Linked DNA regions of Homo sapiens: region 2 is linked to region 1. Evidence: promoter capture Hi-C in human tissues and cell types (Jung and others, 2019). All regions are on one chromosome and are shown on one strand. The core of a region is centred on a gene start or on the middle of the fragment in contact, and the rest is flanking DNA. Distances in the headings are between cores, read along the strand shown.

Region 1 (5,314 bases), core at 962-3,461:
GCCTATAATCCCACCTATTCAGGAGGCTGAGGCAGGAGAATCCCTTGAACCAGGGATGTGGAGGTTGCAGTGAGCCGAGATCGTGCCACTGCACTCTAGCCTGGTGACAGAGTGAGACTCCATCTGAAAGAAAAGAAAGAAAGAAAGAAGGAAAGAAGGAAAGAAGGAAAGAAAGAAAGAAAAAAAGAAAGAAAAAGAGAGAGAGAAGGAAGGAAGGAAAGAAAAAACAAAAAAACTAGAGCTTCTTGGAGAAATGGCTGATTCCAGGTTTGAGGCAGCAAATGTACAGATGTGCCTGGAACATCTTGTCATATCAGATAGCAAGGAAGCTATCAAAGACTTCTAGGGTCTTTGAAGCTCTTTGCACACTAGTGAGAGAGAGAGAGAGAGAAAAAAAAAAAGACTACTAGAATCTTATCAAAAGGAGCCAGGAGCCATATTGAAGAAGCTCCTACTGGCCAAAGATGGGACAATTTGAGCTCTAATATCGTAGATGGAAACCTATCAAATATATTTAAATTCATGAATTTATAATGATATTAAAGAAATCTAAGAATGACAGAGAATCAATTCCTTAACTTGAAAACTGGGTAATTTTTTTAAAAAAAAGCAGGTATTCATCGTGCCTTTCCTATCTCAGGGTAATCAAATAGTAGATGAGAGGAAGCATCTCCTTATCCACTTATGAACTAATAAATGAAAACAAAATTATTAGAATACCATGATTTTGCAAACTTCAATTAATTAATGAATCTAGGAATTGAGCATCGACGGCTGTTAACCTCAAAAAAGAGCAAACACCAGACATCATGATCATGTACCTCTTGAAGAAAAGAACACACAACCATCTATAATCTTACAAAAGACATCAAACTTCAGTCTGAGGAAGACCCTGGATCAGCTGCCAACTTGCTGTCAATACAGAGGACAGAGAAACATGCTGAATTGCCTCATGAATGTGCAACCCCCAGACTCTGGAAAACCTCACAGATCAAGGGCTTAAGTTATTTAACAAATAATTGTAAGGAAAAGACTGAAAAGGCAAATCAAATTAAAAAAAAAAAGAGTGGGGGGAGGGGTAAGGTGCACCCTTGGAAGATACCAAGAAAAACAAAAGCAGCAGAAGTGACTACATGAAAGTCAGGTTAGTGGTTACTTTTGGGAGGAGGGAGAAAGGGGGTTGTCATTGAGGTAGGGCACATGGAGAGGCTCCTGGGGTGGCTGGCAGAGTTCTATTTCTTGATCCAGGTGGTGATTACAAGGATGTTCCCTTTATAATAATTCACTAGTCTATATATCTATATATTTGTTTTTTGTGGTTTTCTGTATTTATGTTTTATTTTACAATTAAAAAATTTTTAAAAACACTCCTTAACCTGCAGTAAACAGTTTTTTTAAAAAAAACAAAAGAAGGTCCAAGTGAAGAGATCAGAAGCTATAAAATATTTCATATTGGGTGCAAACTAAATATAAAGCAAGCCAAAACCAGAAACACCTCCTCCCCCTCCCCTCCCCCCCCTCCCCTTTCCCCTTTTTTAATTTAAAGAACTTTGTAGGTATCTTCCAAACCAATGAGAGATTCTTAACACACACAAAGGGAGGATGTCAGAGGAACCATGGGGCTGAGTTGCACCACTGGAGGATGTCTGAAAAAAACTACATAGACAACCTTCCAGCACTAAAACTTTAGCCCCATGGTTCCGCTGACATCTTCATTTTACAGATTAGAAAACTGAGGCCCAGAGGCAGCCAGTGTCTCATGCACGCTCACGAAGCTAGCATCAGACCCCGACCTAAGGCCTAGGTCTCCCAGTGTAGGACTAAGACACGCACCAAGACAGTACCAGCCCGCTGACCGCCGCCTGCGAGGAGTTAACTGGGGCGGTGCAGGATAAGTGCGAGGGGGGCCCGGGTCTGGCGCTAGGTTTGGCTGCGGATTCTCCGCTCCGGACTCCGAGGCAGAAGGCGGGTGGGCGTGGCGGGAAGGGCAGCAGGTCCACTCCCCGAGCGCTATGCAAATGTCATGCAAATCAGTGCATGGGGGCTGGAGCGGGTGGTTTGAGTCCTGACCCCGTAGCGCCGCGCTCTCACTCGCTCTCCTCAGCGCGCGTCCGCTCTCCGCTCTCCCACTTGCTCTCTCTCTCGCCGGTTCGCTCACCCCCGCCCCGCCCCGCCCCGCCCCGCCCTGCCCAGTCCCGGACGCGCCTCGCGGGCTCCCCGCGCCGCCCGGTCGGCAGCAGGGCGCTGAGCGAGCTCGGAGCCCGCGCTGTGCGCCTGCGGCCGGGGCGCCCCGCCGAGCGCCGGTGCCCCGGCTCCCGGGCCGCCTTCGCCGCGCGGGTGAGTGAGCCCGCCCCATGCTTTTGTCCAGGCGCGGGCCCTGGAAGTCAAGGCTCCGAGGGTGGGAGTTCTGGGTGGGGGCTGGGACCCCCACCGTCTGTGCCTCCCGACTCCCCTAATGGAGAGGGGCCCCGGGGTGCGGCGAGGAGTCAGGGGCGTAAGGAGACGACCCCAGTGACGCCAGGCTGCACGAGTTTTCTTTTGGGGAGATGAAGTGCTTGGGGACACTGATGCGATTGCCTTTCTAGGAATCATCCGAAGGGGGTGCCTTTGATTTGAGGGGCGGAGGAGAAGCGGACCCTTCTCCCAGCTCCCAGACCCTCGCTAGAGGACTCGGTGACGGCCTCTGGGAAGGGGGTGCCACGTGAAGGTCCTTCCAGCCCAAATGTGATTCCGGGAAGGTAGGGCGGGGAAGGCGGCCCGCGAGTGCCAGACCTGGCCATCCCAGGCGAAGCTGGGGCGCGGGCTTTGCAGACTTGTTCCTACTCCATACTCCTCATTTAAGCTCCTTACCTCGCTCTGCCTCCTTCGCGTTAACTGGGGTCCCATTGTTGAGGGACCTTGTTCGCCGATGATTGCAGTTGGAAAGTTTTGGATAAACTTCTCAGGAGATGTGAGTTGTCAATGGTTGAGGTAGACCCCTCCCTGGAACTTATGGAACTAAAACCCTTCAAGACCCAAAGGACTGAATTTCTAGGAGTGGCATTGCAGATGTGAAGATGGGCTGATGGGGAAATGGTTTCAAGGATATATATTTTTTTTAGATTGGGGTGTGTGTGTTGGGGTGCGGGGCACTTTCTATTTCGTAGCCAGAAGGAGAAGACCCAGCTCTACTAGAGTCTAGAGGGAGTAAAATTAGCTGTTGTGATTCAGGGAGCTGGGTGGGTGTAGGGAAACACCTGGGCAGTGGGCATGATGCCAGACCTCAGGCCGTTGGTTTTTACCATCCCTCCTCTCCCCAAGTGCAAAGACCAGAGTATATGCAATGACCCGCCCACCCCACAGCCTTTGAGAGCCTGCCCTGGAGCTGCATCCCCCTTCCAAGAGAGGCTGTGTTCTTCTCCACCTGAATGGAATACTTTTTGTCAAAATGCACTTATCAATAAATTATTTCCAGATGGTGGGCTTAGGAGGACCATTTGGGGAACCCCGCCCACACTTCAAAGAATCAGGAATCAACAATGCAAGTCTCTGGGAGAAGTGTAGGTGCATCTGGTGACTTTACTAGGTTCCTACAAGGCATTTAGGGTTCTAATAGAACTGTTTTCTTTTCTCTTAAATTCTTGACCTCCTTCTCTCTTCCGTGATTCTCTTAGTCTCTTCCCCGCCTGCACACTGTGGGACTGTGGAGGATGATGCTGCTGGCACCACAGTGCTCTAGGGCAGCATGGAATTTTCCTTCCTGCCCAGAGTGAGGTTACCCCTTTTTCTCCCACTCTCAGTGGGCCAGGAGCCTTGGGTCTGGGAGGAACCTGAGCAGTTGGTCCTGGGTCCGGAGTGGTTGGACTCTGGATGCTGGATTGGGTAGCGGGTACTCTGGGGACATGCACAAGAGCTTTTTTTGCCAAGATGTGCAGGTCTGTCTCATTGTTCACTGATGATACAAAGGATGCTGGACCTCATTTGCAGCTAAGCATGAGCTTGGAGAACCACCCCACAGTGGGGAAGCATTTATGCTGGTTTATCTCCCATGTTCAGTTTCTTTTGTGTAATAACTGGCTAGCTGAGGAGGAGGGTAGCTGCAGCATTGTAGATGTTTCCTTGTCTTATTTTTATTTTTATTTTTTATTTTGAGACAGGGTCTGGCTCTGTTGCCCAGGCTGGAGTACAGTGGCGTGATCTCAGCTCACTGCAACCTTGACCTACCAGGCTCAAGGAATCCTCCACCTCAGCCTCCTGAGTAGCAGGGACTACAGGTGTGTGCCACCACACCTGGCTAGTTTTTTGGATTTTTTGTAGAGATGGGGTCCTACCATGTTGTCCATACTAGTCTAATGGGCTCAAGTGATCGCCCACCTCTGCCTCCCAAAGTGCTGGGTTACAGGCATGAGCCACTGCACCCAGCCAGAGTAGTTGCTGTTTGTGTGAGGTTTGCTCACCCCTTCATCAGGGGCTGCTTCCCCAGGGGCCAGATCTTAGAAAACATATGCAGAGCAGACTAGGCCTTGGAACATTCCTAGGCTAACTGGTAAGGCCAGGTGGCCCCACCTGCTGCCTGAAAATGGTAGACAGACAGCTACAGTCACTGCAGAGGAGGGGCTCCTGGCTGGCAGGTGGCGGGGGTAATCTGCTGAGAAGGCTTGTCAGAGAAGGAGGTGACCCAGATGGTGCAGAGGGGAGAGGCCTTTGAGTTCCAAGGGTGGGGAAAGGTTCTGGGTCTCTGGCTAGGGAGATCTTTGCTGGTCTCAGAGGCATAGATTGTGAATGCGCTGGGGTCACCATATACTCAGTGTCTTTGAGAATGACCCCTTGCTTTTATCCTCAAAATATAAGATGAGCCTAGAGTTTGAAACACAACTAGTTGGCTTGTCTGTCTTTTAGGAAGTTCATAAGGTGGGGTGGGGGTTTCAGAATGCAGCCTTGCTTGGGGACATGGGTACAGTGTCCCATGAGTATGGGGTGTCTTATTTAGTATCTTTCTGAGAACAATACTTGGGAGTCTGGAAATATAAGCCTACTTGGAAGCCCAGCTGCACCTCTCACAGCTCAAACCAACCCACACAGGCTGGGAGATTGTTCATTCTTAAAAGCTTCCTGTCCTGTCTTTTCAGCAAATGTAGTAAAATTTAGAAACAACACTTAAAAAGTATCCTTTCCCAACAAAAGACAATGTCCTCGCTCAACTTGGCCAGCAGAGGGTGCATGCAGAGGACATGAGGCAGGGCCATTTGCATGGAAAATGTCCATGTGGATGCTTAGGCCTGAGCAGGGTCTATTGGGTGGCCTGAGTGCTCAGAATCAAGGAACCGTCCAGCAG
Region 2 (5,314 bases), core at 711-3,210, 170 kb after region 1:
GGGTGTGCAGGAAATCTGCAAATTACCTTCAAGAGTCCCTCAACAGGGCTAGGCACAGTGTCTCATGCCTGTAATCCCAGCACTTTGGGAGGCCAAGGCAGGTGGATCTCTTGAGCCGAGGAGTTCGAGACCACCTTGGGCAACACGGCAACACACCGTCTCCACAAAAAACACAAAAATTAGCCGGGAGTGGTGGCCCATGCCTCTAGTCCCAGCTACTCAGGAGGCTGAGGCAGGAGGATTGCTTGAGCCTGCGAGGTCGAGACTGCAGTTGCAGTGAGCCGTAATCACACCACTGGACTCCAGCCTGGATGACAGAGCAAGACCCTGTCTCAAAAAAAAAAAAAAAAAAAAAAAAAAAAAAAAAAGAGTCCCTCAACAAATATTCCTTCTTTCCCCAACACAGGCTAGGGAAAAAAAATTCCCCAATAGTTAACCAAGCAATGAATGTCTTTCCTCCTGACCCAGGATGAGTCCTGATCCAGGATGATTAATTCAAATTCCTGCAGAGCCCAGGAATATCTGAAATACAGTATATATTTCACAGCGTTTGGACTGAGTCATTGCTGGGGGCTTCCTTGGGCTAGAATATTTAAAATTTTTTCCCCCTGGAGTATCTCCATCAAGGCTAAAATTCTTAAGTGTCTAGATTTATTAATAGCCTGCCAGTTGTGCCCATTTGACATAGTTTCTCAGCCTAACGGTTTGTTTATTTAACTGAAGGCCTAGTGGGCCTGTTTAAGGCATCTAAGGACATAAAATGTGGGTAGGTTAAAAAGATGAAAAGATCATCTCTAGAATAGATAATAAAATATAACAAGCATATTTATTAGAGTATTTGTTTTGATGCAGAGCTTCTAATGAAGACAACAGGCATCAGTGAAGTCAGCGTTTGCTTGGCAATGAGTAGAGGCACAGTTTGTTTTCAGATTAATACCAGGCACTCTGCGGGGCAGCCTGGAGCCACCTCCTTTGTCTTCCCTGGTTATGCACAGGTACTTTGGACACTATACAATCTATCCAGTTAACATAACGTATGGATCCTGACCTCCTCAAGCTTAAAAACACTGACAACTTCTTAAATACTTACATTGGCTACAGAAAAATATATTGAAGAAGAATAAATACCAGTTTTAACTTGCCTTTTTTATATATATTAAGAAGCTTAGTTTATTCAAAACATCTGTCCACAAGCCTTTAAACTGTAAGAAGGCAAGCAATTAATTACATGTTAAAATTTATAACCAATATTTTCATTTTATGTAGGTTGAGTACAGAATTGGGTTTGTGTACCACATGGGTTCTTTGTGTTACAGAAAGACTTCTGAGCATATACATGTACGTTTGTGCCCATGCCATAGAATTTGAGCCTCATTTTACTAATAGGGCCATTATAGAGCTTTATAACTCTCCACCTCTACAGCCCATAGTCAGTCATAATTACATAGAGACCCAGATCAAGAATGCTATCCAGAATCGCAGGATTGAGCTCCTAGTGGCAAAATGTGACCCATGTGATGACAGTGTAACTGAGAGTGTGGCTTCCAGGCCCGCACTGGGAGGGAACAGTGGGTGGTTTGGATGCCATACCTTTATGTTTAGAGTGTGATTATAGCTTCTAAGACAGTGGAAAGGCTGTGGTTTCAGTGATCCTTGCTTCCCAGCTAGCAACCCTATCATTACTGGTCAGAGATCTTTTTTGGGATATTATACGTCATTGTTCCTTTCATTCTTTTCCTCGCACACTTCTCTTCCCATTTGCTTCTTAAGTTCTGGGAGGAAGGGAGGCCAAAAGAAAACAAGGCTATGGGAGGAAAAATCCTTTTAATGCCACAAAGTAGCCATTTTGCTGACTTCAAGAAGGTTCTGTTTGGTTAGGAGACAGACTTTTGTTTAAGGGGAATTCAGATGCCCCGGGGATTTACAGCTTGCACAAACCCCCTGGAAATGGGAAGGGGCTGTGTGGCGTGTCAGCAGGGAGAATGTAACTCTTCTTTGATGAATCCTCCAGAGTTAACAATCCTGGAATTTAGGGAAAGGAGGAGGCTGGTGGTGATCCCTGGACCATGCTGGATTTTGAACTCCAAATAAAGAAAGATGGGGGCACTGTGCTTCCATGGTGCCCCCTCAATTGGTGATCTGTTGAATTTCCATAGTATAACAGGGTTTGGAGTGAATCAGAATTGCTGTTGGAATGGCATTTTGCATTGTAATAACTAAGGAATACAGCTCATGTTCAAAGCCTAAGGAAAATATTTGGTAGATCCAAGATTAAGGCAAACATGTGTTGAATGCAAATTTGGATCCAGGACCTTGGGGCTTCAGAAAGTAGCAAGTTGACCAGCAAATGTTGGCAGGTAGAAAAACACACTTATAAGGAGAAATTCAGAATTTAGTTGTTTTTCCTACTAAAACAACGGAAAGAAAAGGAAGGGCTGTGAAGGGAAGACAGGAGAATTATTGTAGTGCAGAAGGAGATGGCAGATCCTGGTCAGCCACCAGGACAAAGGCAACAGTGGGTTCCTAGTGTCAGGTCCTAGAGGAGGTAAAGGCCTCACTCCTGGTGCTGGGTTTGAAGAAGAGGCTTTACTGGTTATTTTATAAGAAGAATTAGTGCAAGAGGTAGCAAACTGCTCCTAACTCTTCCTCTAAATAAAAGCTTTCCAAAACGCCATGTTGGGTATCAATTTATATTAGGTTTTTAAAGTAAAACCACTATCAATTTGTTTTTAAGAAGGAATTGTTTGATAGGAAAGTCTAATTGGCTAGAAAAGCTGGCTTGTTTTATTTAATTCTCACAACAACTCCACTTGACACTTCCGAATTCACTTTACAGATGAAGAAAGTGATGCTCAGGAGGTGATGTCAGCTGCCCACAGTAGTCCAGGTGATCAGCAGCAGCACCAGGCCACCACCTGCTTCAGCCCATGGGCTTTCTGCATGGCTGCTCTTGGATCCTGATAGGTCATTTGTTTGATGCTTTTGCTTCACCAGAGCGATCATTTCATGTTTAGTTTCATGACTAGGAACTGGCTTCAAAAACAACTTCTAGTGAGTCAAAAACAGCCAAAATGGCAAGGACGGAAAAACTCCATGGGTCAGTAGAATCATAAAGGGGAGAGTGCGTATATCTGTCTGTCTCTCATTCTCTCCCCCTTCCTTTGCTTCCCTTTTCCCCCTCTCTCTTCCTCACATTGCCTCTTTTTCTTTCTCTTCTCTCTGTTCTTCCCTTTCTCCATTCTTGCTCTTTCTTAAGTCCTATTAACAGCTTCGTCTACATGGCATCGTTTTTACTTGTCAGCAATCTGCTTGGGCTTATTCTTAGTCATTGTGCTTGTCTTTCCCATTGGACGACAGCCCGATCAATCCTTTTCCATTCTGTCAAAATGGGACAGTGGCAGTTTAATGACTGAGTCCAGGAGTGAATTGGCTAATACCAAGTAACAGAGCAACAGATAAATGCACTTTAGATCCTTAATCCTAGGCAAGGAAAGCAAGGAGACTCAGCCCTTTCTGCACTCCAGAAAGAAGGCCCTCTCTGGGCTCAGTCTCAGCAGAGCAGCAGGAAGCACAGCTGTGGGGAAACCCGGGGTATATTTAGTTTGGCCCCATTTGAGCTGGGCAAGTCTGTCACTGGGTCTCAGCAAAGCATCCCTTGCTATTTGTGTGCCATGGCCAGTGGGTGTCCTCCCAAGACGAAGAAGTCTTGGGCTCTCTGAGACAACCTTGTCACTGGGGGCCTCTTGCCTCAGACCCTGGTCCTTAAACCAGGATGATGCTAGAAGGAGGCCAAGGACAAGCAGAGAGGAGTGACTCCCAGGGTAATGGGTAGCTCTGGACATGAATATGGATGATGACAGAAAGCTCCTCACAGAATTGAGACCTGCCTCTGCTCCCAGGACAGTCAAGGGAAAGCACCCAGACCAGGACCCCACCAGCAGCATCTCCCTCCTCATGGGGCATCGCAGCCCCAGGACCTTAGGACAGGCGAGCTTCTTTCTCTGAGTCTCAGCTCCCTCCACTGTAAAACAGACACAATCTGCCCAATACTTCCGAGATGTTGAGGGTAACACTGAATTAGCTATGAACATCTTTTGGAATCCTGGAGCGCTGGGCTTTATAAGGAATCATCGTTACATGAAAGTTCTGGTTTGGGGGGTTTTTCTCATTGGAGTTATTATCAGGTTGAATTTCCACAACCAAAGGAGTTAGTTGGGTTGGGAAAGTCAGAAAACATTGATTTTTATACTGCTTGTGTGCCATGTATTGTTCTAGCTGTTTTATATGTTACTTTCTAATCATCTAAAACCCTGCAATATTACCATGCATTAGACTGATGATGCAGACATCATACTTCTCAGTATTATGTTGCCATAAGTTTGGAGGAGAGAACACCGAGGCTTGCTTTGGGAAGGTTGCTTCAGATCACACAGCCAGGGCCACGAGTTAAGAATGCCAGTTTCCATCTGTCCTTTCGTATTTTACTTAAGTCCACAGAAGAGTGAGCAGAAACTGATAGAGGCTAGAGGCCAGAGATGAGCCAGAATAATTTGTTTGGCTTTGGAATGAATTGCAATACACACACACACACACACACACACACACACACACACACACACACACACACATTGTGTTGCTCTTTTCACCTGGCTTGTCTCTGTTCTGCTTTAGTTTTTCTCAGTTGTCAAGGATCTAGGATGTGGGTCAGCTGACAGTGTGTTTGTCCTGGAGCGGTCACCATGGGCACCGTTGGAGGAGACTGGTTCCCTTTGAAGGGACGCCTACGTAACATCCCGGCCTTGTCATCAGAAGGCCTGGGCATGAGCTCTGGGTCTGCCCACACTGGCCCCATGATGTTAGCCAAGTCACTTCCCGTTAGTTAAGTCTCTCCTGGTCTCTACACCAGTACAGTGGAATGGTGAGTTGGGACTGGGTCCCACCTTGCCGGTCTGAGAACAGGCTCGTTCTGAACATTCACTCCCAATCATTTCCATCTTCCCTTCTTTCTTGCTGTAGGGCTTTGGGGAACAAAACACAGGACCGGGGGCAATGAGTGACACCGAACTAAATGTCTGCCGATCGGCCGGTTTCCCCCAAGTTCACTCACTCATCTCCTGGAGGGGGTGCAATGAAAGCTTGTCCTCAATTTACTTTGAGATATATCCCATGATATTTTTAAGCAACGCATTTGTATTCCTAATAGTATTTGCCTCAGGTCCTATAAAAATGAGTCCATAATCCTTGGGTGAAGCCCAGACTCCATTGGTTCTTTGACTGCTGATAAACCCATTGAGTAATTGAGCCCAAGTGGATA

The links. Contacts are between HindIII fragments. The study calls those that stand out against the background at their distance.
Region 2: a contact is called between a fragment that was not itself captured here and the fragment with the promoter of MYLK in region 1, in 2 of the 25 tissues and cell types used here (mesenchymal stem cells and thymus).

What each region holds. Positions count from the first base shown.
Region 1 is chr3:123,881,229-123,886,542 of GRCh38, reverse strand. It overlaps MYLK (myosin light chain kinase), which reads left to right and starts at 2,211. Exons shown (of 34, transcript NM_053025.4): 1 at 2,211-2,337. It also overlaps a transcript of CCDC14 not described here. RefSeq lists a silencer at 2,172-2,331. The HindIII fragment of the contact is 8,771 bases long and covers 1-5,314 here.
Region 2 is chr3:123,712,894-123,718,207 of GRCh38, reverse strand. The region is part of intron 13 of MYLK (myosin light chain kinase); the gene reads left to right. LOC105369194 (a long non-coding RNA gene) reads right to left here. Exons shown (of 3, transcript XR_924417.4): 3 at 1,808-5,314. Among named protein-coding and RNA genes, the nearest start is that of MYLK-AS2, 26 kb to the right of the region's middle. The HindIII fragment of the contact is 3,875 bases long and covers 23-3,897 here.